3 separate regions of the Homo sapiens genome follow, and all the other regions are linked to region 1. The links are contacts of gene promoters, found by promoter capture Hi-C in human tissues and cell types (Jung and others, 2019). All regions are on one chromosome and are shown on one strand. The core of a region is centred on a gene start or on the middle of the fragment in contact, and the rest is flanking DNA. Distances in the headings are between cores, read along the strand shown. Region 1 holds the start of NTRK3 (neurotrophic receptor tyrosine kinase 3). Region 2 overlaps NTRK3 (neurotrophic receptor tyrosine kinase 3). Region 3 has its middle 170 kb from the start of LINC00052.

What was found. Contacts are between HindIII fragments. The study calls those that stand out against the background at their distance.
Region 2: a fragment that was not itself captured here is called in contact with the fragment with the promoter of NTRK3 in region 1 in 2 of the 25 tissues and cell types used here (aorta and dorsolateral prefrontal cortex).
Region 3: a contact is called between a fragment that was not itself captured here and the fragment with the promoter of NTRK3 in region 1, in 1 of the 25 tissues and cell types used here (dorsolateral prefrontal cortex).

Annotation. Positions count from the first base shown.
Region 1 is chr15:88,254,591-88,258,819 of GRCh38, forward strand. It overlaps NTRK3 (neurotrophic receptor tyrosine kinase 3), which reads right to left and starts at 2,149. Exons shown (of 20, transcript NM_001012338.3): 1 at 2,054-2,149; 2 at 1,694-1,896; 3 at 1,316-1,578. The coding sequence starts at 1,563. The region is part of intron 1 of NTRK3-AS1 (NTRK3 antisense RNA 1); the gene reads left to right. RefSeq lists enhancers at 293-830, 831-1,367, 3,708-4,002. The HindIII fragment of the contact is 6,423 bases long and covers 1-4,229 here.
Region 2 is chr15:87,899,195-87,903,115 of GRCh38, forward strand. The region is part of intron 17 of NTRK3 (neurotrophic receptor tyrosine kinase 3); the gene reads right to left. Among named protein-coding and RNA genes, the nearest start is that of MIR11181, 45 kb to the right of the region's middle. The HindIII fragment of the contact is 4,263 bases long and covers 47-3,921 here.
Region 3 is chr15:87,743,251-87,747,444 of GRCh38, forward strand. No RefSeq gene overlaps it. Among named protein-coding and RNA genes, the nearest start is that of LINC00052, 170 kb to the left of the region's middle. The HindIII fragment of the contact is 5,550 bases long and covers 1-4,194 here.

The DNA.
Region 1 (4,229 bases), core at 899-3,398:
AGGACTGCAATTCCTCCAGGCTTTGCAGCCCCATGGCCCTGGGCTGAAGCAAGGGGAGGTGCTCCCAGAGCAGCACCAAAGGCAGGTCCGGCCCCCTTAAGTCCGTCGAAGGGGTAAAGAGCCACCCAAAATGCCTTCCTCCAGACCTTGGCCAGGACCTCAGCACAAACCCTTCTCAGCTGCCTACCCATTGCTGAGGGTCCCCAAGGGCTGGAAGCCTTGGGGGAAAAGAGGTGAGAATTATCCTCTGAGCAATTCCAGTATGGTCCACACCCTTCTCCAGGGTGGTAGGTTAGGAAGGGGTCACCTGGCCGAGGTCAACGAAAGAAAAGAGGAGCAGACTCTCCAGTCCCCAGCCCTCGATCTGTCCTCTCCTTTGCGTCTGCTGCCATCCCCACCAAAGAAAAATAGCAAGGAGAAAAGAGCAGGCCACCACTGGTCTCCCTCGGAGGGGGCAGAACCAAGCAAAAGCCAGCCAGAGTTGAATGTTCCAAATGAACCGATCCGCACGATCACACAAGAAACCCCTCTCCTCAAAACACACGCCCTCTCCTCTCCCTGCGCCATCCTGACTCGGAATAGTTCCGAGCAGTTATCAAAGCCCAAACTGGGAAGGGATCTGTAGGCGCCCAGATGCAGATGAGGGTGGCAAAGGGGTGTCTCGGAAATGCCCAAAATGGGGCTGGAGAGGGCGGGCTGCAGGAGGGGAAGGGAAGAGGTAGGCGTCCATGACGGCCTCCACACGTCCAAAGTCTCCCCGCGAGCAGCCAGCTCGCAACTTGTTTACTTGTCAGCATGTTTTGCTGTTTCCAAATGGAAATAGTTAAACACCTCGGCTGGATCGCGAGCAGTCCCTATCTGTCACCTTCCCTGCCGGCTAAGCGCTGCCGCCGCTGCCACCGCCGCTGCCGCCTCTGCCAAAGAATCGAACCTCGTCTACTTTATTCCACTTGAGCGTGGCCAAACTGTTGCTATTTAGTGGGGAGCAAAAAAAAACAATTTGCACCATCGAAACGAGCCAGCAACTGGTTGGGAGGCGGGCGGTAGCTGGGCCCCGCGTGCCCTCGGCGGCCGGGGTCCTCTCCGGGGAGAGGCACACACACGCATAGCCGGATCGCGCCTCGCCAGGGCCGGAGTCACCTGGAATGCGCAGCCGGAGAGCATCTCCCGAGCCAGAGCGAGCCTGACGCGCGCCCAGCGGGCGGCGGGCAGCGGCGAGCTGGGGCGGGCGGAGGGCCGGCTCCCGGCCGCGGGTGGGCAGGAGGGAGACGCAGAGCGCGGGGGAGGCAGGCTGGGGAGCGGCCGCCTGACTTACATGGAAGTGATATTCCTTGAGATGTCCGTGATGTTGATACTGGCGTTCCCATTGCTGTTCCCTGAATCCTGCCCTTCCAGGAGGGGGAAGAGGTTCCCATCGTCCGGCCGCCGGCAATTGATCTCAGTCTTGCTGCAGACACAATTTGCAGGGCAAGCCAGCACGGAGCCCACATAGTCCAGCCAGACGCTTCCCAGCAAGAAAATCCGCCAGAAACTACACTTGGCTGGGCAAAGAGAGACATCCATCTCCGATCGCTGCTTCTAAAAAAGAGGAGGAGGAGAGGAGAGGGGGGTGGGGTGGGGGGAGTGGGGAGAGCAGGGGGGGAAGGAAACAAAGACGGCGAGGGAGGGGGGAAGGGGGAGGGGGGGCCTCTGCCTTTGAAACGCCGAGCGATCAGATGCAAAATCCTTCAGCGTCTGAAACCATCGCGGACGCCGCCGCCGCCGCCGCCGCCGCCGGGTGGGAGCCGCGAGGAGCGCCTAGTGGCGCGGTCTGCCGGGCATGGTGGCCGGCTCGGCGATCGCTGACTCGCCGGGTCCGGGGGCTCTGGAAGCGAGGCGCGCTCTCCGACTCCGAGACTTTGCAGGGTTGCAACAGACGGTGGGGAGGCAAAAAAAAAAAAGGAAAAGGAAAAAATGGTGCTAAAGTCACCAAGTCCCACCTACTGGGCAGAATTAAAACGGACACACCACGCACCTGCAAAACACACACACTCACTCTCACACATACACACACCCGGAGCCCGAGGAAAGGAAGAGAAGGAAGATGCAGTAGGAGCTGCAGCAGCCGCCGCGAATGGCTCGCCGCGCGGCTGCAGAAATGTACAAGTGCTCCGAGCCTTACGAAACGCACGGGTTATCGGAGCGTCTTCCTCGGCTCCCTCCCTCCCTTCCTCCCTCCCTCCTCCCCTCCCTCGTCGCGGCCTCCTCCCCCCGCCCCCCGCCCGGGCTGGGAGCGGCAGGAGAGCGGAATCTCCCCCTCCCTCCCCTCCCCACACCCGTCTCTCTCCCCGCCTGTCCTCTCCCTCCTCCCCACCCACCCACCCACCCACTCGCCGGCTCGCGGCTGTAGCCGGCACCGCCACCCGCAGCCTCGCGGCAGCCCGCCCGCTCCACGCCTCGCAGCGCGGCGCCCGCTAGCCGCAGCCCGGGGGAAACCGAGACCGAAGGGAAAAAGTTGCATTTGAGATTGCGAGGGTCGGGGCTGGGGAGGGAGAGTTGGCGAGCTGGCTGCACGACACGGAAAGGCGCTCTCCTTTCCACTTTTTGGCCCTCGCGCTACCCGGTTTTGCTGCAATCCGGACCGCGGTAGGAAGTGAAATGAACGTGGCGGAGGTGATTGGGGAGTGCTCCCAAGCCTTGGGTGGGGGGCGCTCCCAAGCCTGGGTGGGTGGGGGGCGCAGGCTCACGGACGGCGACGGGGGGTGCCGGAGCGCACAGACACCCCAGAGAAGCACCCAGAGCCGGGGACCGGGACCGCAGACGCGCAGTCCTTGGTCTGAATGACACTCATTTCCGTAATCTAGAGTCTGGGGCTCTGGTCTTGGCTGGGAGGGGACTGCGGGACATGGCACGCTAGGTGCCCCCCGTGCCCGCTGCGCTTTCTTGGAGGTGGGTTTTGCATTCGGCCTTGAGCAGGCATGGATCGGGGAAGGAAGAAACAGGGGTCGAAAGGGCTGCGCTGGAGAGCCGAGGTGGCCCCGGGCGAGCTGTGCGTGCAAGAGAAATGGCCGGGGGAAATTGAGATGCAAGGGGCATATTTTGGCAAGCGCCACGCCAGCACCGTCAGAGGCCGGCTTCTCGGGCTCAGCTCTCGGGTGAGCTGAGCTGGCTGCCGGGTGAGGGGGCGGGCGGGCTGCTTTCTCCGGATTCGGGGGCGCAGAACCTCCTCCTTCCCTCCCACACAAGCACCCCTTCCTGGTAGGGACGCAAAGCAGGTGCAGCTTTCGACGAGAGCTCAGATCTCATCCGGGAAAGAAGTGTGTGTGGGGGGGGCCCCGCTTTTGCGCTGGTAGGGATTTTTTTCTTAATAAAACATAAAGATGCCAAGTGTGAGCTGTTTGCTGAAAAAAAAAAAAACGAGCATTCGCTGTGGGAAAGGAGAAGAAAGGGTTAGGGGAGTCCGAGCAGGCAGACACACTACAGCATTCACACGCAGAAGAAAGCAGGGTTCTCCTTCCCGAGCTTGGAGGAGGGCAGGCGAGGAAGCAAAATACATTGAATTCAATTCAACTGCATCCAGTATCTGAAAGGAGTCTCCCCCGCCCCCCTGTGGATTCCGATGCAGGTCATGCAACTTGCAGGCAAGATGGGGGAAGGGGTATGCCGGTGTCACCGCCTGCCCCAGGCGCAACCACAAACAGGCCGGTCGCCTTCGGGTGGCACTGTCGCTTGGAGTAAAAACTTGGACGAAAAAAATGGAAGAAAAGAACATGCCTATACAAGGCAGTTTTCCCGACTTCCCGTCACGTTCCACCTTCCCTTGGCCCCAGGGAGATTTTTACCCCCGTCGCCATTATGGCCTTGTCTCCAGACTGGCATTTTGCCCTCCCACCAGCAGGCGGGGACAGAGTGTGAAGACCTCCTTGGACTCTCAAACCACTTGCTACTGGCCCTAGGCCAATCCTGGCTGTCCTTAGGCCACTGGGAATTTCCCTGTCACTTCAAGTGCCATTCTGGGATTGGCTTTAGAATATCTGAGAGTCAGGAAACTGAGGTGTAGTCAGATCCTAACACTTGGCCTCTCTTGGGAGGTGGCAGGTGGCAGCAGAGAAACACAGCCTCTCTCAGACCACTCCTGGGCAGGGAACGCCAAGTGGATTCAGCCCAGCATCAGTGCTCCAGCCTGGAACTGAAATGGTTGTGTCCAAAAGATGCCCAGCCCACTTTTTTGAGAGAGAGAGAGAGAGAGA
Region 2 (3,921 bases), core at 928-3,427, 360 kb before region 1:
CTATGAGTGCAGGTAGATGGGCATAATTAGTGGTAAGGGATGGTAAAGATTTAGGCTGGATTAGGGAGTAATTTTCAAGTGTCTTGGACTGTAGCTCTTTCAACGTAAGGCTGTCTTGAGGAAAGATAAGTCTTTGCTGGTTTGTGCTGCTATAATAAGCAAAAGGAGACCCACCCCTCCTTTCTCCTTCCCCCACCCCCTCAATTTCTGTGCCCTTAATCCCCTGCCCCTTTCATGAAGCATTCGAACTCCATCAGTCAGGACACACATTGCAGGTTGGACAGATCAGCCAGAAAGGCACAACTGTAGCTAGAGGTAATATCTACTACTTCCAAACCACTCCAAATTAACCATTCTAGCTGGAGGGAGACCCGAGCCTTTGGGCCCCCCTTTTGTTTTATTAACTGCCAACAGAAAATGCCAGAAGGAGCTGGAGAGGGAGCCCAAAAAGGGGGACCAGGAACACTTTGCATATTTTAATTTCTTCAGTAAACAATACATAGCACAGCAGAAACCTACTACTGATGGCCACATCCCCAGGCAAAGGGTAGTCGGATGCACATCATGGGAGAGGACATAAAGAATATACAAGTCCTTCGCAGGCTACAGGCTGCCTTATCTAGCTTCTCTGAGCTGGAGCTGAATTTCCCATCTGTTCACTGACTGGCTGCTGGAGGAGCTTTGATAAGGGCAAGGAGAAGGTGGAAACAATTAGCCTTCTCACACACCTAAAGCTTTCTTGGGAGTTGAATGTACTCTTCATCCAATGGAAAATGGGATTTGTCTTTGAGTCATGAAAAAAGACCCTTTAATTCTAAAGGAAGGATGCTTGCTGCTGAGAGGAGAGAGCTCATAGATCACTTGCAGGACCACAGACATGAAACAGTTGATAAAGTCCTTTATCTTCATTTAAAAGTGGGGATTCAACTTGGAAAAAATAACAGCGTTAAATTCTCAAGGAAGTCTGAGGTTGGGTGGTAACAGCAGTCAAAGCACTCTGGGAACTGCAAGGTGATTCATCAAAAAAAGAAGTACCACCACTCTTTTTAAGCACCATAGGTTTCTAGTTGGGCCTTTCCCTGGGAAATGCCAGGAAAGGGGCATCTATTAACCCAGCCACACAGCCCTGGCAAGGCCTAGAGGCATCTTTAGCATCCTGGAATGGGGACAGGCAGAGGGAAGGTCTGGCACCAAGATAAACCAGGAACCTTAGTGAAAAGAGCACTGGATTCAGACTCAGGTCATCTGGGTTCTTGTCCCAGTTCTACTAGTGTGCCATCCTGTGGTCTTGGCAGCCCATGTTTTCTTTTGGTCTCAATGTTCATACTTGGAATAATGACATAGTTGGACCAGAGTTTTGCTAAGATTCCTCTCTGCTCAAAAATTGCATGAGCATAATTTTCTCATCTGAATCAGGACATCAAGAACACTGAACGAAAGCTCAACTCAAGGCCCTTCCTAACACCTGCAGCATCAGCAGCCTGACTTTACAGAGGGTGTGTGTGTGTGTGTGTGTGTGTGTGTGTGTGTGTGTGTGCTGTAGGCAGTGAAGGAGAGCATGGGCCAGAATTCAGGAGCTCCACGGCCCTGCCTTAGTTTGCATCATACCTCCTGGCTCACCCCTGGCCTTCTGTGTTCTCATCTGCATAATTGGTAGGGTGAGGGAAAGACTTCGACTAGTTGACCTTTAGGGATCATCCAGTTCCAAAAGGGGATGATTTGGTCAAGTAGAGACTGGATAATCTTTGGATGCCCCTCCTGGCCCTGTGAGAAGGTTAGAGCTCTGAGGTCCACTTCGTTCCACACAGCCTGCTACTCTACAACTGGGTCCTGGGGTGCCTCTTGGCAGTGAAGGGTGTAGGCCAAGGGCAGGTTCAGATGAAAGAGATGGAGGAGCTGTACCTCCATGCAGCATCTGGGATTCCAGGCCATAATCTGAGGCCTGCAGCTGTGGGCTGCTCCATCTCTCTTTATAAACAAGCCCTGCCTCTTGGCTTCTCCTTCAAGGTCAAAAGGCAGGAGAGGACTGCTCTGAGGATGAACCTACAAGAAAGTCTTAAATGTGAAGCCAGAAATCACAGTTGGAGAGTTGTTATTCAAAGGCATTCCTCCTCTGTTAACACACATTCCTGTTTCCAAAAAATATAGAAGGGGAATTTGAGCAGGTGGACTTCTTGTTTGTAGGCTAACGAAACTGGGATGAAGTATCTTTCTCAGGGTCACCTAGTGGGTCCCCAAAAGGTCAAGCCAGGCTGAGTGCTGGGGTAGGTAATCCCCAAGGGTAGAGCCCTCATCTTAATTTATCTGAAGCTCTGGCCTCCACCATAACAGAGGTAGAAAGAGATGCTTTCAGCATTCCAAGTTTGGGAGTTGAGTTGGGCTAAGTTCTTGTCCCAGTGAACATGGATATAGAACAACTTATTGCATGTTTATACTGTGCTAGGATATATGCTAAATGAATTAAAATGCACTGCTTCGCTCAATCCTCCTAAAACGCATTGGCTATGAAAACTACTATTATCGACAGCATTGTATTGAGAAAGGAAGAAAGGAAGGAGGAAAGTTGGGGAGGGGGGGAGAGGGGGAGAAAGGGAGAGAGGAAGGGAAAAAGGAGAGGAAGAGGTTAAGCATCTTATTCAAAAATGCTTGAGATAGAAAAATCCAAGTCTTGTACCCAAATTATTCTGATTCCAAAACCAAAGTTCTTATTCACCACCAAGTTAAAGTTCTTATACATTCTAAATTAAAAAAAGACTCATTAGTAAAAATGTTTTAAGGCATGTAAATTGATAGGTTAGGGTGGCACATTTTGGACAATGTGATAGAAATCCTATAAATGTGATTTATATAAAACACTCAGAAAAGCTGAAGGGGAATTTTCATTCAGAAATATCTAAATCAGCAGATTCAATGAAGTAAGATGGGAACCTACACCAGCCCAGAGAGCACTCATAAAGATGACATCAGAAAATATCTATGTTCCTCCATAGACAGATTGGAAAAAAGAAGCCAGTCATGGACTTTGCTTCCTGTGTCTTTCTCTTGGAGCTTTTCTCTGCATAATGTCCCGTCCCACTCTTGTAGAAATGGCACTGATAATTTCTCACCTCATCAGCTAGGCTCCTGATGGCAAGGCCTCCCTGACGAGGACAAGCCTTCACTACTGAACATCTAGGTCCCAGATAATGTGTTCAACTGTGGCAGCATTTGTCATCATAATTTTCAAAATACATTAGCCTTGATTGTTTGGAAATCTATTTCCCGTTAACATCTCTTTCTCTAAGATCATGGTCTTGGGCAGACAAAGAGAGAGGCAGAGAATGATGATGAAATTATGGAAAGAAGTCAGAGTAGAGATGAGAAGGAAGAAGGGAGAGAGGAAGCAACAGGCTCTACATGGTGACATTATTTAGGTCTTAGAATGAAGCCAACACTAGAAATAATTCCTAAACCTGGAAAACAAAAATTTTATTATAAAGACAGTACATTGCCTTTTTGCTTAAGGTAGAGAGTTTTCTGTCACAGCTGAAAAAATCCTGAGAAAACACTAGAAAATTCGACTCTCAAGTTAGTTTCTATTTCTAGAAATACAATGTCTATTTCTAGAAATGAACCAAAGAAAAAAGATTCAGAGAGATCCCAGAGGCCCATGTAAAAACCGACATGCCCAGCTAGGATGAAACTACGATAAGCCTCCTCTCACCCCGACTCCCCCTTGCTCCTTCCCCACCCTACATGTCTGCACCCAAATGCCAGAGCTTCACTGGCCATAAAGCCTCACAGGACACAGTTCACATTGTGGGCTCTGAGACCGGTGTCTGAACTAAAAGCTTTCCTTGGAGGGCTGCATTTGCCCCGGTGCCAGGATTCTTCAGCCGGATGCATCTGCCTGGAGATCTACTTTCCATTAGGGCTAGCCAC
Region 3 (4,194 bases), core at 1,359-3,858, 510 kb before region 1:
TATGGGATAGTATTAGGAGGTGGGCCTTTGGGAGAGGCGATTGGGTCATGAGGGTGGAACCCTTTTGAGTGGGGTTAATGGTCTTATAAAAGAGCCTCCAGAGAGCTGTCTTGCCACTTCCACCATGTGAGGACACAGCAAGAAGTCACAATCTATAAATCAAAAATCAGGCTCCTACCAGAAACTGAATTTGCCAGCACTTTGATCTTGGACTGCCCAGCCTCCAAACTGTTTCTGTTACAAGTACATTTCTGTTGTTTTTAAGCCAACCGGCTTATGAAATTTCATTTTAGCAGACTGAATGGACTAAGACACGAGACCTTGAAGAGTTTCTGAACAACAAAAGAGAATAAAAGAAAATTGCCTGTTTTCTATTACCTGTTAATAGTATAAACTGTACTGATTATCTGTTTACTTAGTGCATTGACTTTATTGCTTTGTTTTCATGGAATGCAAAAGTATTTGTGTCCTATTAATAGTTCACTCAGGATTATTTCCTTGAAGAGGCTTTAAAGTCCTTAAACACGAATCATCTTACCACAAATTCTCCTTATATATACAAGATTTTGACGTGAATATGGCATTCATGACCAAGTAAACTGTACTATTAAAATTCTAATTCTTTTTGCATTTGTTCTTATTGTCAACAAATTTTAAGTAAAATAAAATTAGATTTACATCCCATATCAACATTAGTTTTAAATAAATTTAAGATTTAATTGTAGTAAAACTATAATAATTCTAGGAAAAATGCATAGGTTATTATTTATATAATATTGAAAATAGGTTGTCAAAAGCTAAAGCCAAAAATGAAATGAGGCTGAGCATGGTGGCTCACGCCTGTAATCCCAGCACTCTGGGAGGCCGAGACAAGTGGACCACCTGAGGTCAGGAGTTTGAGACCAGCCTGGCCAACATAGCGAAACCCCATCTCTACTAAAACTACCAAAAAAAAAAAAAATTACCCAGGCATGCTGGTGGTTGCTTGTAATCCCAGCTACTTGAGAGGCTGAGGCAGGAGAATGGCTTGAACCCAGGAGGCGGAGGTTGCAGTGAGCCAAGATTACGCCACTGCACTCCAACCTGGATAAAAGATAGATCAAGACTCTGTCAAAAAAAAAAAAAAAGAATATTTGCCGGTAATATACATAACTGACCAAATCAGTATGAAGTGCTCTTCCAAATTAATACACACAAAAAAATTTGGGGGGAGCAAGTCTAAAGTAAGAGCATTTCAGTAGATGATCCAAATGTAGAGCCACTTTCCCAAGTGGCCTGTGCTGTGTGAATCCTCAAACTCCTATAGAAACCAGAAGATAAGAGTAACCTCAAGGAAAATGAGTAGAACTATATTTCTTTTCAAACTTGGAATATGGAGAAAGAACCTGTTAGATTTCGTTTTTAAAAGGAATGAGATGTGACATTTCTTACACCTAAATGTCTTTCAACAGTACGTATATTTCCTTGCCTACATTTTCTGAAAAGCAAAGATTGCACCTTAAGGAAAAATGCTATTTTATGCTCTAAGGGAATCTTGCTAAAGCATAGTGCACGTTTTGAAAAATAAACAAAAACAAAATAAAACTAAAGTGGGGAGAGGTTTTAGTGAGATTAAAAGATATATGAAGTGCTTGGGGTGGCTCCAGAATGTCTCACTATGGGGCCTGCACTTGCTCTTCCCTGGTGTGGAACACACTCCTTCCATATCTGCCATGGACTTGCTCCCTCATCTTATTCAAATTTCAGCCTAATCATCACCTCACCAGAGAGGCCTTCCTTGATCCCTTATCTAAGTAGCCATACGTTCTTTCTCATCATTCTCTGAGCTATGTCCTATTTCATCTGTGGCTGAAGTTATAGTAAGCATTTCTTCATTTAACTATTTATTTTCTGTCCTCTACGCTAGTTTCCCCAACCCCACAAGGTCAGGAACTTTGTTTTATCATTATTTATCCTCAGGGCCCAGAGGGGGTTCCTGGTATAGAGTAAGCGCCCAATAAAACATTTGTTGATGGAATATACAGTAAGTATTAAGTGGTGCTCATTATAGCTAGAGGAAGAGCAATCCATCCTTTTACTCGTGGTTCAGATCTTCAGTGTGGACCTTGTGCACCTTAGAGTAGAGGTGAAGAAGTGGAGCTGGGGAGTCATCCAGACAGAGGTATTTGCCACCAACTTCTAAACTTGTGAAAAAAAAATGAATCTACTGAAAGGTTGCAGGAATAGTGCAGAAAACACTTATATACCTTTCAACTAAATTTATCAATTATTAAAATTTCTTTTCTCTCTCTCTGTCACCACACAAATATACATATAGATAGATAGACACATACAGACATACATATATACATGCATATACATACGGATGTGTACACACACATACACACACACACTTTTTAACTAAACTATTGGAGAGGCAGTTATGGGCATCATCACATTCAACTCCTAAATACTTCAGCAGGCTATCTTTAAAGACCAAGGACATTCCCTTATAAAACCACAATACAGCTATTGTACTCAAGGAAATCTAACACTAACACAATACAATTGTCTAAAAAATTATTAGTACTCAAATCTCCCCAACTGCCCTAATACTGTCCTTTGTAGATGATGTATTTTAACACAGATGCAGTACAAAATCCACATCCCAACCAGCTAATGTGTATCTTCAGTTTTTTAATTCCCCATCTTTGTTTGCCTTTCATGACATTGATGCTGTTGAGTACGGTCCAGTCATTTTGCTTAACGCCACTCAGTGAGGACTGGTTTGATTGTCTCCGCATACTTAGATTTCAGTTATGTATTTTTGGCCAGAATGAGAGAGAAATGACAGTGTGGTGTCTTCCATGTACCACATTACGGGGTAACACAGATGCAATTTTGACTCCTGGCTTGTATTTACCATGTGACCTCAGGTAATTTGCATTACATCTCTGAACCTTGATCCCCAAATGTATAAAATGAAGATACAAATACTAACTTTCTGATGAGATATTTGAATAAGAGAATGTATAAAAAGCTTTTACACTGAGTCTGATTCTGGCTCTGTCATTTATCAGCTGTGTAACCTTGGACAAGTTTCTTAACTTCCCTGAACCTCAATTTCTTGACCTATAAAATGGAATTATAGTAACTAACTCTTAGCAATTCTGTGAAGATTAACAGAGACTACATGTCCAAAGTCCTGGAAAGAGTGGCTGGCATAGAATAAGTATCTAATAAATGTCAACAAGTCTCCTTGTTACTAATAAATGACATGTGAAGTCATAAAATGATGTCATCACAGCTTTTGAAGTCTAAAACTGCTTGTTTCTCCTCCATATCCCTGGGGTGCTTTGTAGAAACATGTGTCTTCCTTTTACAGCTTTTCTCTCTTCTCTGTCAAATTAACAGCATGCACTTTTGTTATGATCATAGGACAACCTAGCCTCACTTTTCAAATTTGTGGCTAATAGCCAGCCCTTGGTAGTGGAATCTAAGTGATTATGTTTGATAAAACTCAGTATAAATAGGTAAAAACCTGATCCTATGTTACTTCCTTCTTGCCTCCTTTTATTTTTCTCATTTAATTTAATGTTAAGCAGCTGAGTAAATACTCATTCAAAATGCAGTGAACTGAAGTACCTGTCATCTAGTTTAAATAGCATAATGCCCCATGGAGTGACCCTATAGGGTCAGTACGATTTAATATCTTTATCACGGGCTTGGTGAAGAATTAAGAACATTTCCATCAGTCTGCCCAGGCACCAAGCAGTGTCTTTCTATCCAAAGCCTGACTTTGCATATGGTCATCAAGAGGAAGTTGGGGGCCCTAGGATCAGTCACAGGAGAAGCCCTAGTCCCTTGTGGGTCCCCTGTACCATGCTCCTCAGCCCAACTCCATTCCTGACCTGTGCCCTGGAAGTTGACTGCAGATCTGATTCTCTGGTTTATCCCTCAGTGGTCCTCTGTGGGCATGATTCTGTACTCAGCCTCTGCAGTTCATCTGCATTTGGTCACCTCATGTTACAGCCTTGCTTCATCCATCCCTCATGGCAGTTCACTGAGCCAGCGAGCAACCTCTCCAGCCTCTCTGGCCTTCCAAGAAGGGTAATTAACCAACAACAAGTTCAAGCCAGCTTCCTCTGGTTGAACTCCATAACAGATGTCAGGCTCAATCCAATATTCAGCCCAACTGTTCCTTGGCACTAGATG